Regions from separate parts of the Homo sapiens genome. Here regions 1, 3 and 4 are each linked to region 2. Evidence: promoter capture Hi-C in 16 types of primary human blood cells and fetal thymus (Javierre and others, 2016). All regions are on one chromosome and are shown on one strand. Each heading gives the region's core, a stretch centred on a gene start or on the middle of the fragment in contact. The rest is flanking DNA. Distances are from core to core; before and after follow the strand shown. Region 1 has its middle 22 kb from the start of SNORA75B. Region 2 holds the start of LDB2 (LIM domain binding 2). Region 3 has its middle 2.2 kb from the start of SNORA75B. Region 4 overlaps LDB2 (LIM domain binding 2).

The links. The method cuts DNA at HindIII sites, captures the fragments that hold promoters and counts their contacts. A CHiCAGO score of 5 or more calls a contact.
Region 1: a fragment that was not itself captured here is called in contact with the fragment with the promoter of LDB2 in region 2 in 1 of 17 cell types (endothelial precursors); the score reaches 5.9 in endothelial precursors.
Region 3: a fragment that was not itself captured here is called in contact with the fragment with the promoter of LDB2 in region 2 in 2 of 17 cell types (endothelial precursors and M2 macrophages); the score reaches 16.3 in endothelial precursors.
Region 4: a contact is called between a fragment that was not itself captured here and the fragment with the promoter of LDB2 in region 2, in 1 of 17 cell types (endothelial precursors). The highest score is 5.3, in endothelial precursors.

The regions. Positions count from the first base shown.
Region 1 is chr4:17,341,892-17,344,591 of GRCh38, forward strand. No RefSeq gene overlaps it. Among named protein-coding and RNA genes, the nearest start is that of SNORA75B, 22 kb to the left of the region's middle. The HindIII fragment of the contact is 3,005 bases long and covers 1-2,700 here.
Region 2 is chr4:16,897,379-16,900,078 of GRCh38, forward strand. It overlaps LDB2 (LIM domain binding 2), which reads right to left and starts at 1,267. Exons shown (of 8, transcript NM_001290.5): 1 at 976-1,267. The coding sequence starts at 1,107. The HindIII fragment of the contact is 2,891 bases long and covers 1-1,704 here.
Region 3 is chr4:17,321,775-17,324,474 of GRCh38, forward strand. No RefSeq gene overlaps it. Among named protein-coding and RNA genes, the nearest start is that of SNORA75B, 2.2 kb to the left of the region's middle. The HindIII fragment of the contact is 1,694 bases long and covers 564-2,257 here.
Region 4 is chr4:16,513,804-16,516,503 of GRCh38, forward strand. The region is part of intron 5 of LDB2 (LIM domain binding 2); the gene reads right to left. The region is part of intron 2 of LOC105374505 (a long non-coding RNA gene); the gene reads left to right. Among named protein-coding and RNA genes, the nearest start is that of TAPT1-AS1, 290 kb to the left of the region's middle. The HindIII fragment of the contact is 1,040 bases long and covers 783-1,822 here.

The sequences.
Region 1 (2,700 bases), core at 90-2,589, 440 kb after region 2:
GGTCATTTCCTGAATGATATGGTTTGGATTTGTGTCCCTGCCCAAATCTCACATGGAATTGGTGGAGGGGCCTGGTGGGAGGTGATTGGATCTTGAAGGCAGATTTGCCCCTTGCTGTTCTCATGATAGTGAGTGAGTGAGTTCTCATGAGATCTGATGGTTTAGAAATGTGTGGCACTTCCCCCTTCTCTCTCTCTTTCTCCCGCTGCCATGAGAAGGTGCTTGCATCCCCTTCACCTTCCACCATGATTGTTAAGTTTTCTGAAGCCTCCCAGTCATGCTTCCTGTTAAGCCTGTGGAACTGTGAGTCAATTAAACCTCTTTTCTTCATAAATCACCCAGTCTCAGGGAGTTCTTCATAGCAGTGTGAGAATGGACTAATACACTGAGGATAGTGATGATTATTGGAACCACGTGCAATAACTGAACAATATTTTCAAGCATACGAAGCACTTTTTGAACATAAACCCTTCAACCATCACAACCAATTCGCAGATCATCCTTCTCTACTGTTCCCTCTTGGAGGCAGACAAACAAAAGTCCAGGTCATAAAAAAAAAAAAAACAAACATACGTTCATGATAACAACTCTCACAATTTCTGAAAAATCACTGTGAAATTCACCCCCAAACCCTCACTGAATCAGTTCCTGGGACTCAATGTCTAATCAATCTATAAATGTGACCTATCTCAACAAGTCAATGACTTCAACTTCAAAACACACAAATAGACACAAGCCACAGTGCACAAGGTTATCATCTAATGTGACATGGGGAGACACCAGTTGGGACTATTACCAGGTACCCAGAGGACTGTGTAGGATCATTGCATCTGTGGGTCACTTCAATTTTAGCACCTCGCACATTACCTAACACTACCCAACACATACTAGGCACTCCATAAACATCTGTTACAGTTGGGGTTTCCTAAGCATCTTCACACACATTATATGGTTGTTAAACCTCAAACTATCCTTCGCAATAGGCATTTTTTACTTATACTCACTCATTTTAAAGTTTGTGAAACTGACATTTCTACCAGTTCGACGAGTTGCCCAAAATTGTAACAAGAGTAATAAATGATACAAATAGAACCCATCTCTCCATCATTCAAGGCTAGTGTGTGTAATACTGTTACATAAGTATAAAAATTTCAGAAGTAACATGGAACTGGGATTGACTTAGATAGAACGTCATGTCCCTCACAACACTATAGACCTTGCCATGGTATATGCGGTTCTAGCAAAAATGCATTTTTACACTTCGATCAAAATTTAGCAGAGTATCTGAGAAGGTTGACAAGATGTTAGCAGCAAGCCAGCTGAGAATCTCTGTCTCAATAGGAAGATATGCCAAGAAAGGGAGAAGATAAATGGGGTTTCAGGAGGGGTAAATGCAGTAGGAGTTAGGCTTATAAGCCCTCCTCCCACCCACCTTCTCGAAATCCTACCTCCACCCATGGCTCCACACACATTCTACTAAGATTGTTCCCTCTAGCACAGAAGAGTTTTTCCCCTTCATTGATGAACATTAATGCCGCAGAATATAACTACTTTCATTTTGTTATGTTAATCAAATCACTAATTCATATTTATTATAAAATGACTGGTAAACATAGATAACAAAAATAAAAATTATTAAATTAAAATCACTCTGAATTCCACAACCAAAAAATAACTACTGCTAACTCCTTAATGTAAACATTCCAGAATTTTCCTAGCATACCAACTCATATAAACATGTACATATATTTGCAAAACAATACTATAACTATTTTTAAACCTGGCTGTTGTGTTTTTTTCACTCAACAGGAAATCTTGCACAACTTTTCATGTCAATACATAAGAGCATGTAAACATCATAATGACTTCAGTATAAACTAATGAATTTTCTACGGCTGAATATTTAGGTTGTTTCCAAATTTTTGATACTAGAGACAATATTTTATGAGCATTCTTGAACATACATACATCTTTGGGCACCTGCTTAGCTACTTCTTTAGGATAAATGTGTATTTAGGATAAACAAGTATTTGATTATCTCATTTATAATGGAGAGGTCTTTAATGGCTCCTGCTTGATATTTAGAATAAATTCCAAATGAATTAGCATAGCCCACTTTAGTCTCCCTCTCACCCCAGAACTTCCCTGCATATACTGTTGGTGCCTTAGGCTGTGCTCACTCTCTGTGTCTTTCTCCACTTCACTAATCCTTTCTCTTCTTTCTCCAAACTTCAAAATTCCGCTTAAATATCACCTCCTTCTGAAAGTCTTCTATTATCATGATCCTTCACCAATACAACGCAAATTATACTACTACTAATAATAGTAATAAACACATATATGTAGCACTCCTTTGTGTCAGGAAGTATTCTAAGCATGTTACATAGATATGTCATTCAATTCTTTCAACAAATCTATGAGGTCATCACTGATACCTCAATTTTACAGATAAACTGTATTTAGAAACTTTGAAGTTTGTTAGGATTTATGAATATGTGAGTACTTATACAAACTTAAATTAAATACATATATGCATATGTGTGCAGCTCGCTCTAGCTAGAAGTATAAAACCTTAGCTACCTGTGTTGATGAATAAATCCTTTTTCAAACACACTTAAAACTAACGTTATTATCTAGAGGAAAAAACTATAAGATGCAATTAAAGAGACCTATGTGACTTAAGATGAAGCTATTTGGATA
Region 2 (2,700 bases), core at 17-2,516:
TCCGAACACTTCCACACAAAGCCCCAACTTACAGGCAGATGGACAATCCAGCAGCAAGACCTGCCAGCTGAGCTAGCACAGAGAAAAAGTCAACTGACATAAAATATTTAAATTGCAGGAGGCGAGTCTGGAGTTTTGCATTTAAAAAGTTCTGAAAGTCCTGTTCTCTCTGCTCCCAGAGTTGCTGGCTGCCTAGGAGGCTGAGTCTCCCTCTCTCAGGCACAAGATCTCAAATATGCAAAAACTAGAGCTGACTTGAAAGCTGAACCAGCTCCTGTCCTAAGGTAGAGTGATAGGGGGGCACGGCCGACAGCAATAGGAGAAAGTCTAGAGTCCCCTTGCCCCAAGCAACTGGTTTCTGATTTTAACACTGAAATATACAAACATGTGTCCCTCCAGGGCTAGTTCTGAGAAGTAGGCAGGTTTACTCTTCTGCCCCTTTTTACCTCGATTTTGGTGACTCTGAAAAGTAAATACAGGTCAAAGCAGACTTCCTCTAGGATTTGTAAAAAAGAAAATATATATATATATATATATATATATATATATATATATATATACACATATGTATATATATATATATATATATATATATACACATATGTATATATATATATAGCCAGATGCAAACAATCACAAAATTCCTTGGAATTATATCTCAAGAAACACCAACAGGACTGACTCAGAGCCTGTAAAACACCAGAGTTCTGGAAGAGCAACATTTCTGGAAACCCGGCATGTGAATCAAGTGCTGGGTTGTCTCAAGATTCCGGCAGAAACTGTCCTCTGCTACAAGAGTTGCTGTGCCTGGAAACCCAGCGTCCAAACTCGTGGATTCATCCTGGCGCTCATTTCCACGTACGTGGTAGTATCAAGTGGGACACTTCCCATAGAATTCAGCCAGAAACCCTAGGAAAAGCTCATGCATAGCTTAACAAAAATACACAAACACATCCCCAAGGTTGAAGTACTTACCTCTGTGCGAGACTGCAGTCTCTTGTTCATCTCATAGATTCGGTACTCTGGCTGTACCATGTATGGTGTATGCCTCCTATAAAATGGGCCGAAAGGAGAAGAATAGAAGGGGTCATGTGGTGTGCTGGACATCTTGCCTGCTTTTCGAAAATCAAGCTAAACAGAGTATCAGTAACGTCCATGCAGAGCACATGGGCTGTGTTCTTCCCAGTACAAAGTAGACGCACGCACACACGCTCACACACACACAGAGGCAGGCAGGCAGGCAGGCTGAACACGCTGGCTGGGAACTGCTGTCGGAGCCCTCTATAGCAGGAGAGGAGAGGGAGAGGAGAGGAGGGAGGGAAAGAGGGAGGGAGGGAGGGAGCACGGGAGAGGAGGGAGAGGGAGAGAGCAGGAGCTCCAGAGAGGGAGGGAGGTTGGTATGGAGGAAGGGAGGGAAGAAGGGAGGGAGGGAGGGAGGGAGGAGGGAGGGAGGGAGGGGGAGAGAGAGAGAGAGAGAGAGAGAGAGAGAGAGAGAGAGAGAGAGAGAGAGAGAGAGAGAGAGAGGAGCTGGATAGCTTTAGGCACCACTGCTTGTTTTTAAAGAAGCAGTTTGTGGAGAGGTCATTTCCTGTCCACATTGTAGACTAGTTCACAAATATAATTCTCCTCACAGTCTGACAAGAGGTCTAAGGTTTGGTTTTAATTTTTTTCCTCCAGCCAGGACCCTTCACAACCTGATTGCTAAGCTTGTTAGCATAGAGGTGGTCTAACCGCTACATGAGCCGCTCACCCCTGACAACCACACTGTTGTAATGTATCAGAAATGTTGATTACTACAAAATACAGAAACACGGGCACTGTGGTGCCCCGAATTGGGACCGGTGATTCACTCACATGCAGAGATTTATTTCAGCACTAATCTCCCTATGTAGTTTTGCTTTACTTGCTGTTGTTCCAAGGGCTGTTATATTCTTTGCCCTCCACTCCATCTCACTCCCATCTCTCCCCACTCACCCCTCTTCCCAGCCACCTCCCTCTTCTCCAAAGACTTCATTCAGGCCCTTAAGGTGCCTGGGCATTTTCAGGTAAAAACAGTCGTTCTGAATGTGGAAGGTATAAAATACACTTAAGGAGAGCAATGGTCTTTTTTCCCAGGAAGGAAAAACAAACAAACAAACAAACAAAAAACCCAAACAGACCTCCCAATAAGACAGGAAAAGCAAAGAAGGAGAAAACTGCCACAAAAATGACCACGGAAAATTTGGTTGAGAAGGAAATTGCAAATAATTGAATGGATCATCCCCAGATAACATGTCCAACTCTTATGGAGACAAAGTCTGTATTTTCCAAGATTGGTCAAGTAAACAAATATTTTCCCAACTGTGGTATATGATAACCATAAGAAATCCCAACAGCCCATGGAAGGGGAAAATCTCTATAGAGAATTAAACAATCTATAAAATAATCAAATTCTGCTAGAACCCACTATAACCAGAGATACGACACTTAAACAAAGCCCAGCCACACAAAATTTAAATGTATTGAGCTAACACCTAGGTAGGTCAGTGGTATTAAGGAAATAAAGCAAAGGACCACCAAAAAGCATAATGAATTCAAGACCTGAATGCAAATGCATGCAAATGAGACATTTCTTCTTTTTAATAAGCAGATTAATTAACTTTCTGCCCCAATCATGGCTTGGGTATCTCCAAGTCACTAGCCAACAGGGGATAGAGTATT
Region 3 (2,700 bases), core at 161-2,660, 420 kb after region 2:
TGACCTCGATTACTGTTTTCAGGATGCAAAAGAGTTAGCTCAATGAAGAAAAGAGTGGTGAAAAAGCATCCCAAGAAGAACAAATACCTGTGGAATGAAGGAAAGAATGGAAAGAATGGCAAATGACTCCAAGATGACAGCTTAGTCAACAGGCGCTGGCTTTGTCCGTGAATAATCATAGGGGAGAATCCATTGTGCTAGAGCTGCCTCGTGGGTTAAGAACAAACCCAGGAAAAATAGACGGGTTCTCTGTCCTCACAGGCATATTCAACAAGACTAAACACACAAGGAAGAGAGACTAAACACATGAGAAGGATGCAAGGCAGCAAAAAAACCGGCTCTGAACTAGGTAGCCAGACTCCAATGGTAATCTCAAAAAAAAAAAAAATGAATCATACTATTTTGTTTGTGATGTGCCAGACACTGGGCTAAACACTTTATATGTTTTTCCTGCTTAAATTCAGCCCACAAATACACATTATGTGACTGTCTCTCCATGACAAAACCCCTAGGAGATTTTAGGGAAGGGAGAGATTGACCCAAAGGACCCAAAAAGACAGCAAAGCTTGAGCTAGGCCTTAAGAGAAGGAAAGAATTTGAATAGAAGGTGAGTAAAAGAGAAACTACAGAAGCACAGCCCAAGAGAAACATAATGTGAGCCACAAATACAAGCTACATATCCAATTCTGAATTTTCTAGTGGCCACATTTTTTAAAGTTAAAAAAGGTAAAATTAACTTTTAGAATATATTTTATCCAATATTTGCAATGTATTAAAATTTCAGTATGTAATCAGTATAAAACATTATTAATGAGATGTTTTGCATTATTTTCTTTCTCTACTAAGTCTTTGATATCTGGTGTGTATTCTCTACTTACAGAACTTGTCAGTTTCAAGTAGCCAGACTTCAAGTGCTCAATAGCCCCATGTGACTACCACCTTGGACAGCACAAGTCAAGAGGTTTTGAAAAAAGAAAAGGCATTCATGGATGTCTTGCTAGGCCTCAGTCACTTTTTCTACAAACACAGCTTTATTTAATCTTCCAAACCACTCCCTTAGGGGAATATTGTTACAGGTTGAGTATCCCTTATCCAAAATGCTTGGGACCAGAAGTATTTTGGAATTCAGATATTTTTTCTAATTTTGGAATACTTGCATTATACTTATGCGTTCAGCATCTTTACTCCGAGAATCCAAAATCTGAAATGTTCCAATGGGTATTTCCTTTGAACATTGTGTCAGCATTCAATGGCAAAAGTTTGGATGTGAAATCCAAAAGTTTTGCATTTTGAAGCATTTCGGGTTTTGGATTTTTGGATGAGGGGTATTCAACCTGTATTATCCCCATTTTACAGAGGAGAACACTGAGACTCTAAGAGGTTAAGTTGACAGCTAAATAAGTGGGTTGATCTAGGATTTAAATCCAGCTCTCACCAACTTCAAGCCTGGGCATATTCCTCATGCTGGAATTGTCTTAGGAAACTGCTTCCGAGGACCGTGCACCCCAAAACAAGACAACACCCGGGCAGAGAGAACCACAGAGATCCTGGGATCCACTTCTGAGCAGCTTCCTCCCCAGGCTCCATAGCCCACACCAGCTTTGTACAGCCTCCCGTACAGGGAGCAGGGTGGACAAAAAGCACGCAAACACACGCAACTTTTCTCTTTCCAGTTAATTGAAATTGAGATGTACCCTGCTCCATCACAGCAAAATGACGAAAGGAAAGCAAGGAAGGGCACCTGTGTGGGTAAATCTTTTACTTCTGTTGCAGAGACGTACATGATGAACAGATACTTAGTTGGCTGCTTCTCAGCCAGCCAAGCAGGGCTCCCTTACACCCTTTGCGGCTCTATTTTGTTGTCAATTACTGTTTCTAAAACTATTAAGAGAGGAAGGGGGAAGAGTATAAACAGCATTAACGGTAATTTACGATCTGAAAAGGGACAGCAGGAGTTCGAAATCTGTCTACATTAAGATACTTTCCCCACGCTCCTCTGGGTCCTGGAGCTAGAGGATCAGGATCCAGGATCGTAGGAAAAGGATGTTTATACAACACTTCTGGCAGAAAAGACATTTTTTTTCCTTGCACGCCGAGGGCAAGGTTCAGCTGACTTTCCATAAAGGGTCTGGTCTGTGCCGAGCATGCTGTGGGTACCCTGTCCCTGGTGTGGGAAGATACATGAGCTTTCCAGATTTTTGTTTTATTTTATTTACTTTTTGTTTAATGAACCCTCCCTGATTTCTACAGTCATTCAAGCTTGCTGCCACCCACCCCACCCCACCTCAACCATCAGCAAAGCCCACCAGGAAAATTGCCAAGAGAGACACTCATCAGCTCTTCAGTGAGAATTTTGCCATGCTTCTGCCTTTGGTAACTCCAGATTCTTCCAGACAAAGGTTGACTCCATCACTAAGGCATGTTTTATGCCATCCAGTTTAACTTTGCAGGACCTACTTCTCAAGCCAAGGAATTGCAAGACCACATTATGTAGCAGCTTGAGTTAGAGTCTAAAAGGAGAGCCAGTTGCACCCCAGGATTACCATGATTTTTTCCTTTTTCTTTTCTTTTGAGGTGGGCATGAGATACCACGGTCTGGCTCTGAACACAATCTCTGGCAGCTGCTTATGATTCTCTCAACACTAATGATGTGATCAAGTCTTCGAGTGAATTTTGGAGCTGAAGGGAGAGACAAAAAGA
Region 4 (2,700 bases), core at 53-2,552, 380 kb before region 2:
CACAGCAAGCCATAGAAACTAGAATGCCTCTTCCCCAAGGAAGGTCATAGAAACCAGAACCTATCCCCGCCAAAGGTAGACATAAAATCTAAACATATTATTCTAACTTTTCCCTGCCTTTCTGTATAAGAGCTGACCATAAAGAAATTCTGTGACCTGCTTTGGAAGTAGGTCATAAGACCCACATTCCAGCAAGGATCCTGTCCCATATCCAGGAGGAAGGAATGCTGAACGGAGAGACAAAGAAGAATCTGAACAGACAGGCCTTGCTGCGTTTCCCTATTCAGTTATTCCCATTAGGTCATACTCTCTTTGTCCAATCACAGTCCAACACAGTTGTGCATTCCTCATTGAGCCTAAACATAAAAATGAATCATTTTTCCTGTATCTTTGGGTCTTCATTCTCAAGGCTCCTGTGTCATGTAAAACTTTGATTCAATAAATATGTTATACTTTTCTCTTGTTAACTTGTCTTTTGTTATAGGAGTGACCCTTATAATAGGTAAGAAAAGGAATCACACTTTTGTATCCCTATGCCCTCACATAATTCTGACAAACACGACTAGAATTTGAGGTCCACTTACCTATATATCCAGGGCTTTCGAACAGATAATAGAGACAGCAAGACTTGCACAAACCCCCAGTGGTGTCCAGTTCTAAATCCATCCTCTTCTCACTTCCACCAACTGTCTCATGTTCTCTTCCTTCCTTCTTAAGTCTAAGCATGATAATTATGTTTACCTAGAAAGGTTCTTCAGTTGTTTGTACCTATTACTGACCTAAGCTTGCTTAAACCACTCACCCCATTTAAGGGCCAGCTGCACTTTTCTTTCATTTGTAATTTCTCTGGAAGACAATAAGATTAAAGCCTGAACAACACAAGGAATATGCACATCACAGGGGCCAAGACACCAACCCTAATAAACCAGGCTGTAAAGTAATGAGACCTGGGTTAGTAATGCTGGATCTTCAATCTTGCTTACTTTGATGTCCTTTTTGAAATCTAAAGTGTTAATATGGAAAAACCTGTGAAAAAGGCAAGATTACTATAGAGTTAACTCCATATTCCAACATTATGAAGACTCTGTGTGCATTACTCTGTTAAGAATTCCTTGCTGATCCCACTACAGGGTATATCCCCAAATGAAGATAAATCCTTCTACCAAAAGGACACCTTTACTCATATGTTCATTGCAGTACCACTCACAATAGCGAAGACGTGGAATCAACCCAAGTGCCCATCAGTGGTGGATTGGATAAAGAAAATGTGGTACACATTCACCATAGAATACTACACAGCCATAAAAAAGTACAAAATCATGTTCTTTGTAGTAACATGGATGCAGCTGGAGTCCATTATCCTAAGTGACTGAACACAAAACCAGAAAACCAAATACTGCATATTCTCACTTACAAAAGAGAGCTGAACATTGGGTACATATGGGCACAAAGATGGGAACAATGACACTGGGCACTCCAAAAGCAGGAGGGAGGGTTGAAAAACTACCTATCAGGTACTATGTTCACTATTTGAGTGACGGTGTCAATAGAAGCCCAAACCTCAGCATCACATAACATGCATGTGTCACAAACCTGCACATGTACTTCCTGAATCTAAAATAAAAATTGTAAAAAAAGATGCTTTGCTACTACAAATCAAAGTGTAAGTTACAGACTACTTCATTGCCTTTCCAAGCCATCAGTGCTCACCAGACCAAAAGGAGTGAAAGATTCCACAGTCATCTGTGCAAGTAGATTTAAGAGTGGGTTATCCCTCAAAGAAGTACCACTGCATCTATTATTAAGCAAGAATGGTAAGAAAAGCTTCAGAGAAATCCTAAAGACTAGGAAACATTTTAGAGTATTTTTTTTAGTATTTAAAACAGTTAAAAATCTTTTCAACATTTTCAAATTATTTTCATTTGGTTCATTTACCACTTATTGTAAATGAGCTTATGCTGGAGATAAAATACATGGGTGGAGTGGAACAAACATGGATTTACAAGCTAAGAAGTCTAGGTATGGATTATTTATTTATTTATTTATTTTATTATTTATTTATTTATTTATTTATTTTTTTGAGACAGTCTCGCTCTGTCGCCCAGGCTGGAGTGCAGTGGTGTGATCTTGGCTCACCGCAAGCTCTGCCTCCTGGGTTCACACCATTCTCCTGCCTCAGCCTCCTGAGTAGCTGAGACTACAGGCGCCCGCCACCACGCCCAGCTAATTTTTTGTATTTTTTTTAGTAGAGACGGGATTTCACCGTGTGTCCAGGATGGTCTCAATCTCCTGACCTCATGATCTGCCCACCTCGACCTCCCAAAGTGCTGGGATTACAGGCGTGAGCCACCACGCCCAGCCTAGGTATGGATTTTGACTCTCACTAGATATGCATCCTTGGGTAAGTTATTTAAAAACACTGGGTTTCAGTTTCACCTGCAAAACAATACCCATCTTATATACTGTTGTGAGAATTTGAGTTAATATGTCTAATGCATGACTATTTAATAATCTGTAGATATTATTAATTATATATTAGCAAGCATGCATAGGTTGCAATACAAACTACATTTCTATTACTTTACATCAACAAACAAACATTTATTGAGCTTCCTCCTAAGTATCAAGCATTCTGCTCGGTGCTGGGGACACAAAAATGAGAATAACACAATCTCTGCCCTTAGAGGGAATCCTTAAAAA